Linked DNA regions of Homo sapiens: region 2 is linked to region 1. The links are contacts of gene promoters, found by promoter capture Hi-C in blood cells and fetal thymus (Javierre and others, 2016). All regions are on one chromosome and are shown on one strand. The core of a region is centred on a gene start or on the middle of the fragment in contact, and the rest is flanking DNA. Distances in the headings are between cores, read along the strand shown.

What was found. The method cuts DNA at HindIII sites, captures the fragments that hold promoters and counts their contacts. A CHiCAGO score of 5 or more calls a contact.
Region 2: a contact is called between a fragment that was not itself captured here and the fragment with the promoter of EREG in region 1, in 4 of 17 cell types (activated CD4 T cells, non-activated CD4 T cells, naive CD4 T cells and 1 more). The highest score is 7.2, in activated CD4 T cells.

Annotation. Positions count from the first base shown.
Region 1 is chr4:74,362,139-74,368,274 of GRCh38, reverse strand. It overlaps EREG (epiregulin), which reads right to left and starts at 3,130. Exons shown (of 5, transcript NM_001432.3): 1 at 2,900-3,130. The coding sequence starts at 2,966. It overlaps LOC105377276 (a long non-coding RNA gene), which reads left to right and starts at 2,934. Exons shown (of 3, transcript NR_188415.1): 1 at 2,934-3,124. The HindIII fragment of the contact is 3,301 bases long and covers 2,613-5,913 here.
Region 2 is chr4:74,695,330-74,701,465 of GRCh38, reverse strand. No RefSeq gene overlaps it. Among named protein-coding and RNA genes, the nearest start is that of BTC, 96 kb to the left of the region's middle. The HindIII fragment of the contact is 7,353 bases long and covers 185-6,136 here.

The DNA.
Region 1 (6,136 bases), core at 1,881-4,380:
CATATTTTAGCACAGCTTAAGAGAATAGTCACCTTTTATTTGCCTGATTTTGCACAGAGTCAGAAAGTCCATTTGTACATGTGCTGTGCCTATGAGAGGGTCTGAACCCTGGAGCAGCCCCAGCTACTCTGGAACTTCTCTATTAGAATCTGCTATGTTTATTATGCTCCTGCTAACCCTGAATCTCATTGGCTCTTTCCTCATTATCACAGAGTGACCTGGCCATTTACTATCTCTGAGTCTTTGTAAGGTACTTGACTTCACTGGGCTAATCAAATCTACCTCACACAGTTATTTTAAGAAGTAGAGGTGATGATGTATTTAAAGCACCTAATACACAACATGGCTGCCACACAGTAGGCATTTAGTAACTGTTAGTTTTCTTCTCAACTCCTGGATTTGGGTCTTAGTGCTGAATCAGACACCCCAATTACCCAAGCTGCTCACATGGCAAGACTGTGCAGAAGGTGGTGAGGGTACCTGGTCAAAATCCAGACAGGAAAGGCCTGTCATCACGTTTTCTGACAAGATTTGTCATCTCAGGTTGTGCCAAGACTCAGGTAACTCATAAACTCTCAGAGTCAACAGAAATGATCAAAGACAAGCCTATTGTCTCATTGAGATTTATGCTCCTCATATTTTCAAAAAAGAATATTTCTTCTGCTTAATTCTCTCTCATTGATGAAGTACGACTAAATTATCTTGGAGATGTCATTCAGGAACATATTCAAAAACCCATGTAGGCATGAATAAAAATGTTTGATGTTAAATAGAAAGCCCCTGAACATAACTGCAGAATTCAACATAAAAATTTATCCTCCTCTCTTTAGAAAAATCACAAGATAAAAAAGACAAAATTCTGCTCTAAAATTATAGATTATTTAAAAAAATGTTATCCGGTATTTCAACTCTTCTACTTAATGTTCAGTAGGCCAAAAATGCTAGCAAGCCCAAGTGTGGACTCTCACTTTGTCACTATTTTTCTATGTGAACTTGGGTCACAGTTCCCCAATTTATAAAACAAGAGCCTCAATATTAAACAAGTGTAAAATTTAAAAGTAACCAAATGATTGTGCATAGCAATTTAAATCTGTATGTGTTAAGGGTGGAGGCTGGAACTTTATTCCCTAGTCATAACTACATAAAGCAGTTATAACATGTATGCTAAAATTTAAAATAAATGTCTCGCTCTTTTTTGCTGGGGGAAGGACAAGATTTGGGAAAAGTATTTTTAGGAAATATTTTGTTTGGGGGAAAGAAGGCAATTTCAGAAATAACAGGTGGTCTTGCCAAAATAAGGCTATGGGCTCTGCATAACTGAATAGAGTTTAGAGATATAATACAGAACTTGAAACAGGAACTTTCCTAGTGGCAGAGAAATATCCAAACAAACTGGGAAAACAGAAACTGACCTAACTCATTTGGAAATGGGCTTGGCAGCTGACGAAATAGATGAACTATAATTAAGTAATGCAATGAAGGAGGTAAGCACTTTCATGACAACAAACACACACACAACACACACACTAGTGGGTAGTAACCAGGTTATTCACAGGCTCTGGCTGTCTCAAATTAGAATATTCAATGAAACACCCAGAACAGACATGTGCATTGTTCAGATGCAACCTTACATGTGGGGAAAATAATAAGTGCTAAGTTATTCTGACCTCGAGGTTAATTTCTAACTCTAGGAAGACTGTCACCTTTCTAATTTAATTCTTTTCAAAACAAAGACAGCAAAGCCACATTGTTTACTGAGAATCTTCTAGCAAGTCTTTCTTAGCTCAGTTTTGGCAGAAACCACATATCTAGTTTCCACTTGTGTTCCTGGACTTAGACTTGTAAGTTTCAATTATGCATAGTATGCATTTCATTAGGTCTCTCAACCCCTGAGATAAGGTGTGCCAAAATAATAATTTAACAGTCACATCCTTCACAGGTAGAGTTAGAGTGTCTGGGGAATCAGCCTCATTCCAACTCCAGGGAGAATATGAGACTGGTGGTAACTTTTATTTTTTTATTAAGATATTCATATACGACTTCAAACTCTTTCAAATTCCTTAAACTGAAGTTTAAGGAATTGGAAAGAAGTAATTTTTTTTTAACAGAAAGGCTATTTAGAAAATTTTTCCCCTTGAACTAAATCATCTCAAATAGGAAGACTGGCATTTAAATACCCTCAGCGATCACAGGCTATGGAGTGCAATTAGCAGCAAGTGCAGAACGCTTGCTCCAGAGGCTGCTTGGGAGGCTGCAGGGAAAAACGCAAGCAGCAGGTGTAGGGGCGAAGGGCGGTGGGGAGCGCCAGGACCTGCCCAGGGCCCTTCTGCTCCAGATACCCTCGACCAGTGTTTTATTTCTCTTGTGTCTGGAGCTCAGCCAACTGGCACTGGCGCATACCAGCTCCTCCGGGAAAGCTAAACCAGGCTAGGTTTTAGAAAACTGAGCGCAAGACAGAGGAGAAAAGCTTTTTCCCCCCTCCAAAAAATTTCTTACGCTAGTTTCTATTCCCCACTCTCCAACAAAAAGGAACAAGACATGAAATGTTAACAGTGCGTTCCAGGCCTTTAGATTTCTAGGACTGGCAACTTTTCAAAAAAAAAAAAAAAGCTTTTTCAACAACTTTTTATTTTGTTTAATAAGGAGATATTTCAATCCATGCATAACATATATGCCAATAATTAATTCACCAATAAAAAGCATTTTAACATCGATCCCCAGTCCCCCCCACCCCAGTCCCACCATAGGGGAAGACAGACTCACAAAACAAGACGTAATTTTAAATAGAGCACACTTGAACCTGGAGACAACTCCGTACTTGTCGAATGACAAATGCACAGGAGCCTTCCTTATTTGTCTCCTCTTTGGGGCGGCCGGAAGCCAGAGGGGGAGAACTTACCCAGGCAGAGCAGCAGCGCAGGGACCCTGCCGGCACAGAGCATCTCCATCCTCCTCCCCGCGGTCATCGGCGATGGGAGCGGGCGCTGGGGCTTGGCGGAGGGCGGCTGCGGAGAGTGCACGGGCAGGGCGGGAGCAGACGGGCTCGCGGCAGTGGCTGGAGAGCGGCTGTCAGCCTAGAAGGGACCCCACGTTGGCTGTGTCCCTCTGACACTGGAAATATCAGGCAAGTGAGCTCAACTGTCTGGTGCTGCGAACTTTATACTAGGGAGCCCCTCCCGGGCCCTAACGGGGTGAGGTCAAGAGTGCCCAGAGTTTCATAATTGGCCCGAGGGAGGAGCGGCAGGAGGACCGTCAGGAAGTCATCCTCCCTCCCTGGAGCACCTGAGAGTAGTGGTTGAGGAATGAAAAAATGTCTTTCCGATTGGCCGGGGACTACTCCCGAAACTTTTCCATCTCCCTCCGGGAGGTGGGGAGCGTGGACCAGATGGCTTGGTTTGCTTTGTGGGGTCACCTGCCCTGTAGTGGGTGGTTTTGGTTGCTCAGGGTGACGGACATAACTTGAATCAGTCTTTTAGCCAAGGCTGGCGTTCCCCATACATGCCTTTGGAGAGCTGTGCGTGTGACTTACTAACCTCAGCCACGAAAACTCCCTTAACTTGAAGTCTGTCAGTGATTCAAGCGCCCTCCTTGCATTGAAACGCCACCGCCCAGAAAAGCCTTTCCCATCTGCGCCTTCCTTCTGAGACCCCTGCTTCCAATGTGGCTCAGGCATTTATTACCTCAAAGTCGAGTCATTGTGAAGAAAATTCCTGTTATTTTTTTTCCTTCTGTCGTATTTGCCATTTGTCAGGTTGCTGCTTTTGATATGACTTCCTACTAAGTAGTGCCTTAATCCTGTCGCTCCCCTGCACAAAACCTTTCAACGACTTCCTATTGCTTTTTGGACAAGGCCTGCCACAAACGTGAAGCCAATCGGTCTTTTCAACCTCAGCTCCCACTATTTCCCCAGGCAAATTGTCTGACCCCAGCCAGGCTGGAAAACTCTAAGCCTTTCCTCACTCCCACTTTCCTGCCTATGCTGATGGAGTCGTACTTTGAGGCAATGGCTACTTTTTAAAGGAATTAGTGAAATCCTGCTCAAATTCATGGTTCTCCTCAAGGGCCTGGGCTTCTTAGGCTTGTGGATCTCTTTTCATTCTGATCTCTTATAGCTTTTGTCGTTTATCTTCTCCCTAGCCTCATAGAATTCTAGACCCGGTACTTTACACCTGGGAAAGCTACTTTGTATTCCTTGACTTTTTTTTTGTTTGTAAGTCCTATGTTCAGCTCTGTACTGTGTAAATTGTCTTCCTTTTCACTGCACTCCTCTATAGGACCTAAGAACTGTGAGTCAATTCAGCAGTACTGTATGTAAATATACATATTTGAATAGAAAATGGAATCTAATGGATGTTAACTCCTTACCTTTTTATTTCTACTTTTTAAAAAATTATTATTACTATTCCTTTTTTTTTTCTGGCTTTTTTCTCTCATACTCTAAGGCCCTTTAATGTCCAGAATGCTCTTGTTAGAAACAAATACTTCGGCCGGGCGCGGTGGCTCACGCCTGTAATCCCAGCACTTTGGGAGGCCGAGACGAGCGGATCACGAGGTCAGGAGATCGAGACCATCCTGGATAACACAGTGAAACCCCGTCTCTACTAAAAATACAAAAATTAGCCGGGCATGGTGGCGCGCGCCTGTAGTCCCAGCTACACGGGAGGCTGAGGCAGGAGAATGGCGTGAACCCGGGAGGCGGAGCTTGCAGTGAGTCGAGATCGCGCCACTGCACTCCAGCCTGGGCGACAGAGCGAAACTCCGTCTCAAAAAAAAAAAAAAAAGAAACAAATACTTCATCATGTTATCAGGGGTTAAGATTTAAACTGTCTGTGTGTGAATTCCTGGACAAGTTATTTAATCTGTCTCAATTTCCTCATACGTAAAACAGGGATAATAATAGTATCCAGCGCATAGGAAAATAATGAAAGTGCTTAGTAGAGTGCCTAGTACCGAGTTAGTGCTCACTAAAAATACCTACCATTATATGCAAACGTTGATGCTTAAGATGGTGGTACTTGGTAGTTGGTCAATATTTGTAAGTTAAATGAATCAATGAACAGTAGGATAGAGGTAGGCTGGGTTCCTAAGTCTAGCTTCCAAATCTATCAAGAAAGCAGGCATTGAGTGACTTCTCACTTAATAGCTTATTTTGGAAAAGAAGAAATGGAACCAAGGAAAATGATATTAGAAATGGGTTATAGTTTTATGGAGCATTGGTAGAGATCACAAGTTTCATAAATTAGAAAGAGGTAAAGTGACTTTTATGGTTATATAATGGCTTTTGTCCTACAAATTGGATCTGGAAAAAAAAATAGTCCCAGTGTTTTTGAGGAATGGAAGCAGAATTCAAACGAATGGAATGTCAACTGGGAGCATTTTCTATCAGGTACTTGCAAAGAGTGAGAGGAAGAGTTTTTAATCCTGATTAATGGCTTGTTTCTTTAAATATAGTGTGTTTTATGCTGAAAAGAAAGATGGTGGGGATGTGATGGGGAGAATGGGTCATGCTGACAATAATTGACAACAGTCACTTCTATGGTATTGATATGTGAAGAGGAATTTTTTAACTTTGTAACTAATGCCTGCAAGCATGAGATATCATCACTGTGAAAAAAATCCCTGTGCTTGTCTCAAAATTTTCCACAGCAATGTACTCTTTTGTAGGCTGATTTTATATGATGTGAAGAAATCTTTTCTTTATTAGTTCTATGTTTACTCAATTTTCTAGCCATTAGATATTGAGAATGACTCCACCATGACACATCAGAGGATTTGCACGCACTGCCTCCGCAAAATAGTATTCTTCTTCTTTTTTTTTTTTAAATAATTGGGAACAATTTTCATTAATTGTTCATTTAAATATATATACATAGTATGCGGTATAATCATAATTCCTCTTAAAGGCACAAAGCTTATTTAAAGATAGAATGGTTTGGGAAGAAAATAACCGGGTCATATAGAATTTTCCAATTAGGAAGTCACTTTAATACATCAGCAATGTCAGCAATTCCCAGTTTGAGATGTACTGGGATTCCTTTCCAAGGGGTTGGTAAATCGAATTATCTATAGACTAAAGCGCGCGCACACACACACACACACACACACACACACACACATATATATACTATTTTAAACA
Region 2 (6,136 bases), core at 2,612-5,111, 330 kb before region 1:
GTTGTGTGAGCTTGCAGAACTGATATTTCTAGTGATCTGAAACAAGTGTGGAGAAGGTGATGAATAGAATTTAGTGAGGTTTTTTGCTTAATCATTGATTTAAATGCATTTTTATATTGTTGAAATCATCACAAATTTACAGAAAAGTTGCAAGAAAAATACATAGACCTTTTTTCTTGAAGCTTTTGAAAGAAAGTTTCCAAACGGGTGTCCCATCATTTCCAAATACATTAGTGTGTATTTCCCACAAAAATGACGTTTCCAATATAACCACAATACAACTATTAAAATCAGAATATTAATAGTTATACATTATTTCCATTGAGTTCTTAGGCCTTATTTAACTGTCTACCCCATAGCAAAATAATTTTATAAATTGAGTTTGTATTTCATTTTAAATTTTCTTTAAAAACCTCAAAAAGAGCCATTGTCTAAATAAATTACAAATAATTGATATTTTTTGTGGCAAGTTAGTTTTGGCCACATTACAACTATATATGGTCACTTAGATGTAGAAGAAATAAAATTCTGATGGTTTTAATATTCCTTAATTTATTCCTTAATATATCTTAACATTTTGACAGAACTGAAGGCACCTGTACTCACCGTGAGCTTGTCTGACTGCCACTCATGTGAGGACCTTCTTCAGAGTATTCTTTATGCAACAGTTTCTATCTTCTCCTCAAGACAGTTCTGCTGGTGCCACAGACTAGTCTGAGCTGAGGGTTTCTTACTTTCTCAGGAACAAACAGAGAACCCCAACCCCCACCCCCAATCCCTCCCGTGTTCATCTCCACAGCTGGTCATGTGCTCTGTCAGCAGGTTTTTAAGCAAACAGTAGGTTTTGGTTTTTGTTTTTGTTTTGAGACAGAATCTTGCTCTGTCACCAGGCTGGAGTGCAGTGGTGCGATCTTGGCTCACTGAAGCCTCTGACTCCCTGGTTCAAGCGATTCCCCTGCCTCAGCCTCCCGAGTAGCTGGGACTACAGGCCTGCACCACCATACCCAGCTAATTTTTGTATTTTTAGTAGAGATAGGGTTTCACCATATTGGCCAGGATGGTCTCAATCTCTTGACCTCGTGATCCATGAAGCAGCCTTAGAATAGTCATGCTATCTAAGGCAGATACATTACCGGAATGTAGTTCTATTACTTAATACAACATGCAAGAACTTAACACATGTCTCCATTCATTCCCCCCAAGTAAGCAGAATTCTACTGAGAAAACAGTATTGTGTTTTTTTTTTTCTGATTACAAGAATGACATAAGTAGTTATATTTTATTTAGATAGTATGGAAAAACAAGTAAATAGATAAAAATGTTCAGAAGACATAATCTTCGTAAACATAAATACATACTATAACCTGTTTTTTTACTTAGGAAAAAGTTATTAATTATGTCCTATATTATTGATATGTCATACACCAGAATTTCCCAAACTTTGTTCTAGTGAAACCAGGGCATTGAAATTGATAATGAAATAAGTGAGGGAAATGCAGTATCCTGTACTTCCTTAAATAAAGTAAGCTGTTTAATTTGCTTTAACTTGGTGTTTCCCAAACCATTGTTCATAGGACTGACTTTTGATCAAAATCTTTTAACACACTTTGATAAATACTCTTATTTCTAAAACATATACTTTAATGACTGGAGCATGTAGTCCACATTATGTCAGTTAAGAATTAATTCACATCCAAATGGCAGAAGATTCAATCACAGTAGTTCCACCAGATAGGAGTTTATTTTTCTCATGTCATAAGAAGCGTGGCTCTGGAGCAGCTTCTCAATGGTGTCATAGGAGCTCTTTCTGTCTCGTTCCACCATTTTAAAATTTCTACTTCACTGTTGTAAAATGCCTGCTACACCTCCAGGTATTAATTACCTAGTCTAGGCAAGAAGAAAAAGGAAGGGGTCAGGAAGACGGAAGGACCAAAGGGAACGACAGCCTTTGGCCAGACTGTCCCTTAAAAACCAATCATATTTCTTGGAAATCTCACCAGTAACTTCTACCCATGCCTCATTGGCCAGTTCTGGGCTACTTGATTACCCTGAGCTACAAGCATGTCTGGGAAGGTGAGTGCTTTAGCTTTCCAGCCCCCGCAATTGAGGAGGTCAGGAGAGGGGCATAGGGAAGAGCCTTTGGATAGACAAACCACCACATTTACCTTTACCCATTCCCTTGGCTACCCAACATTCCCAGGCCCTTGTTCCTCATTATTGCGGGTCTCTCGCCTTTCCAGTGAAGACCACACCAAAGTTTCATTCAGTTACCACATCCAGCTTGAAATTCAGGACCTCTGTGTGATATGCTGTCCTATTTGTCAAATCTGAGTGTAGCTTACGTTCTAGTGACTCATAAGTCAAAAGTTAATTATCTGTCTTCAATGTGTACAACATACAATGATGGAGAAAGAATTTTCATATAAAAAATGTGATAATGGCAAACAAAAAGCAGTTTCTATCTGTAAAAAATAGCAAATCTTGTTTGTTAAAAATTGCAGGGATAGGCCAGGCCCAGTGGCTCATGCCTGTAATCCCAGCACTTTGGGAGGCCCAGGCGGGTATATCACCTGAGGTCAGGAGTTCAAGACCAGCCTGGCCAACACAGCGAAACCCTGTCTCTACTAAAAATATAAAAATTAGCTGGCCATGGTGGCAGACACTTGTAATCCCAGCTACTTGGGAGGCTAAGGCAGGAGAATCACTTGAACCTGGGATGCGCAGGTTGCAGTGAGCTGAGATCGCACCATTGCATTGCAGCCTGGGTGACAAGAGCAAAACTCTGTCAAAAAAAAAAAAAAAAAAAAAAGAATTGTAGGGACCACCGGACTTGGAAAAGACTGCACTTCTTGGTTAACCAAACTGGCAGTTCCTAGTTCTGCCACAGTGAGATTCCTCATTGTTCATTGTCCTCCATGAACACAGGCAAGACGACTTTCTGGGAGCCTGCACATCTTTTTCAGGTCCTTCCCAGTGGTACAAGTTTAAGGACCCTAATCCCGCTTTATGGATTAAGCACTCACAAGGTTACCATTAGCCAGGGCTGGGATTCCTCTGTCACTACAGTTTCTTTAAAAATTTAGCTTTCTTGTCTATTTTCTCTGGATTAATTCCATGTGTGAAAAATCATAGCCAAAGACTTGTGTCTGGTGGCAGGCTCCTATGCCCATCCTTCTCTTCCTGAGATAAAAGTCATTATTACCTTAAGGCAAGGAGGAAAACAGTCTCTATTGGGGCACCTCATGTCTTTCATTTGGAAATAATCTTCTTGCCCAAACTCACACTTCTTTCTTTGCCTCCAGATATACCCCATATCATGGCCATGCCCTGGCTAAAATATCCACCCCCTACTTTTTCTACAAATCTTGCTCTCCTCTTTCATGTACATGCACAGGTCTGGTTTTAATAAGAGAAAATGCAACCTGAAATCAGTAGGCTCACAAGAAGAAAATGATTTAAGTTTTCTCCCACGACTTCCCTCCAACATTCTGTTTCTTATCTCCCTTCCATACCTTAGATGACATTTTAGGCAGAGCCCCACATACCTATTGGCTTCAGCTCTTAAATAGCAGTCATTTTTGTTGACTCTAAATTTCACCAAAGGCATTAAAAAGTGCAGTACAGTTAATATTTCAATGTCACATGCAATTAAAAATCTTCCTCCTCCCCGGTAATTTCTGTCCTGACTTTTGGCCTGGAGGCTGCTGTGGAAAGAGGGACCATGCCTGTTTTTCATTATTCCTTCACCCATACACTTTCCTGTTGCTGGCTTCAGGAACGAGGAAGTTGAAGTTTAGGGAAGAGAAAGGAAAAATTAAAGGAAGAGGTATAGAGTTGTATCTGCCTGGAGCTGTGGCGATAGGATAGTTGGTGTCTTCTGTTACCTTTGAGGGAGGCAGTGCACAAACAGCTGGTCTATTGTGAACTTCCCTTCACAGATGTACCCTCTGAAACCCTAGTGCACCTCACTCATTCTAGAAGTGACATGTTTGAATTAGATCTACTTCAACAGCTTATGCTTAACTATTTTCTGTGCCATCACTTAACTGGCAGGAAGAAGTTCACGCATATTTCACCACTAAATGGTGGGCGTATAACTGACCCAACTGTTGGCCACTTTATTGTTGCTCTGCTCTTCTCTACCACCGCAGCATTTCTTCTGCCTTTTGCATTCTTCATGTGGGAGACAGATATCAGTCTCTATGTTCTTGTAATTCTTACATTCATGGGGATCTATGTGATGTTTTTCCTCTTTAGCTCTCTCAGCATGTTTTTCTCCTCTTTAGTGAAAGCGCCTGGACTTGCATTTCTGCGGTTTGGTAAATAGGAATGAGGTGCTCATCTCTTCTTCCATCTCTAACAGAGGTTCTGGAGATTCTCTAACAGGGGTCCTTGTAAGGGAAGTCTTCCCTTACATGGCTTTCTTTACATGACTTAGGGAGAGGAAAGAAAACTGCCACTCACATCCCCCTGATGCTCCCTCTATCAATTCCCTTTTTGCGGCCCCCATTTTGAATGTCAATTTTCCTCTCATAGAGCCTAGAAAGAGTGATGTTCACAATACTGGGATGGCTTTTTTCTAATATCCTGCATGCAAATTGTAAAGAGTGATCTCTTCAAAGAGTGTAGGTCCTTATCACTAATGTCCTTAACTGCAGGAGTTTAGCCAAAAAATGCCAAGACCCCTGGGAAAGTCCCTTTTAACACCCAATAAATTTTACTGAGTGTTTTCCATATACCAGGCATTGCACTCAGGCATTGTATAAGTTCTTTCATTCTCATAACTCTATGGAGTGGATATTAATATTCCATTGTACAGATAAGAATATTGAGGTTTAGTTGAAGTGCTTACTCAAAGTCACACAGCAGACAAGTGTCTGAGCTGAAATTCAAAGCTCAGCAGTCTGATCCCAGAGCCAAGACCATTAAAACTAAGCTATCTTGTCTCCCTTTGTGTGTAAGCCCTCTGCATCCAGTAGGTTTTTCTGTATTAGACTGAGTGATAATTCTCTTGCTATAATCTCTCTAAGAAAATCCAGGGAAATCATTAGATTAGGAGTTGGACTATTTTTGTAAAGAAAGCTGAATTGGAACATGCCCATACCCATCTGTTTATGTAGTCTATGGCTGTTTGCATGCTATAGCTGCAGGGTTGGGTAGTGTGCCAGAGGCAGTATGGCCTTTAGGCTGAAAATATTGCCTATCTGGCTCTTTACAGGACAGGTCTTCTGAAGCCTGTCCTAAAGAATTAAGGAAGTTGACTCCGGCTCTGCAATTTACATAGTCTATTGTGCCACTTCAGGTGGTGTCCCTCTCAGCTATCTGTTTGCTCCCTGGGGTTGTTGTGAATATTAGCTGTGCAAATCTAAAATCTCCTCATTTGGGTTGTGCAAATCTAAAATCTCTCAGACTTTTAACAGACTTTTTAAGCTGAGAGTTGATAATGTGTTAGGTTGTACCATGTGAAATTGCCAATATCTGACTACCTTTGATCTACAAAAATGGTAATTTCATATGTTTTAACCAAAGTATTATGTAGTTTTCAGATGAAACAGACATAGAATTTGAATTCTGTGCTCTTCACTTATCAGAGATATGACTTTGGAAGACTTATTTAACTTCCCCAAATTGCCGTCTCCTTACCTATACAATGAAGAATAGTAACTTCTCTCTTCTCAGAATTGGTACAAGAATGGCGAGTATTATATAAAATATTTAGCAGGAAATAAAAGTTCTTAATAATCTATAACTGAGTTTTTATTGCTGTTTATTATATCATTATCAAGAAGGTGTAGATCAGGGAACCCCTTTCATAAGATTTTATGAGGTCTGGCCTTGCTGGGGGCAATTTACCTGCCTCTGTGTATATAGATTTCCCTAGGATTCTCCTTACCATATTTCCTTATTGACAGATCCCATATATGGGAACAGTTAGCTCCAGTCCAGGAGACCTGTATTCTCAGAGAAATCTAAAATTGATATGCTTTGGCTGGGATGGTAGTAGTGAGTATATGTAAATAAGATGGGTGACCTCTACCATCTGAAGCAAAACACAGGATATTGAGAAATAGTTTTAGAATTGACTAATTAGGTCATGATATCTCACCTCAAACTGATTTTTTTTTTTCTATTTCCC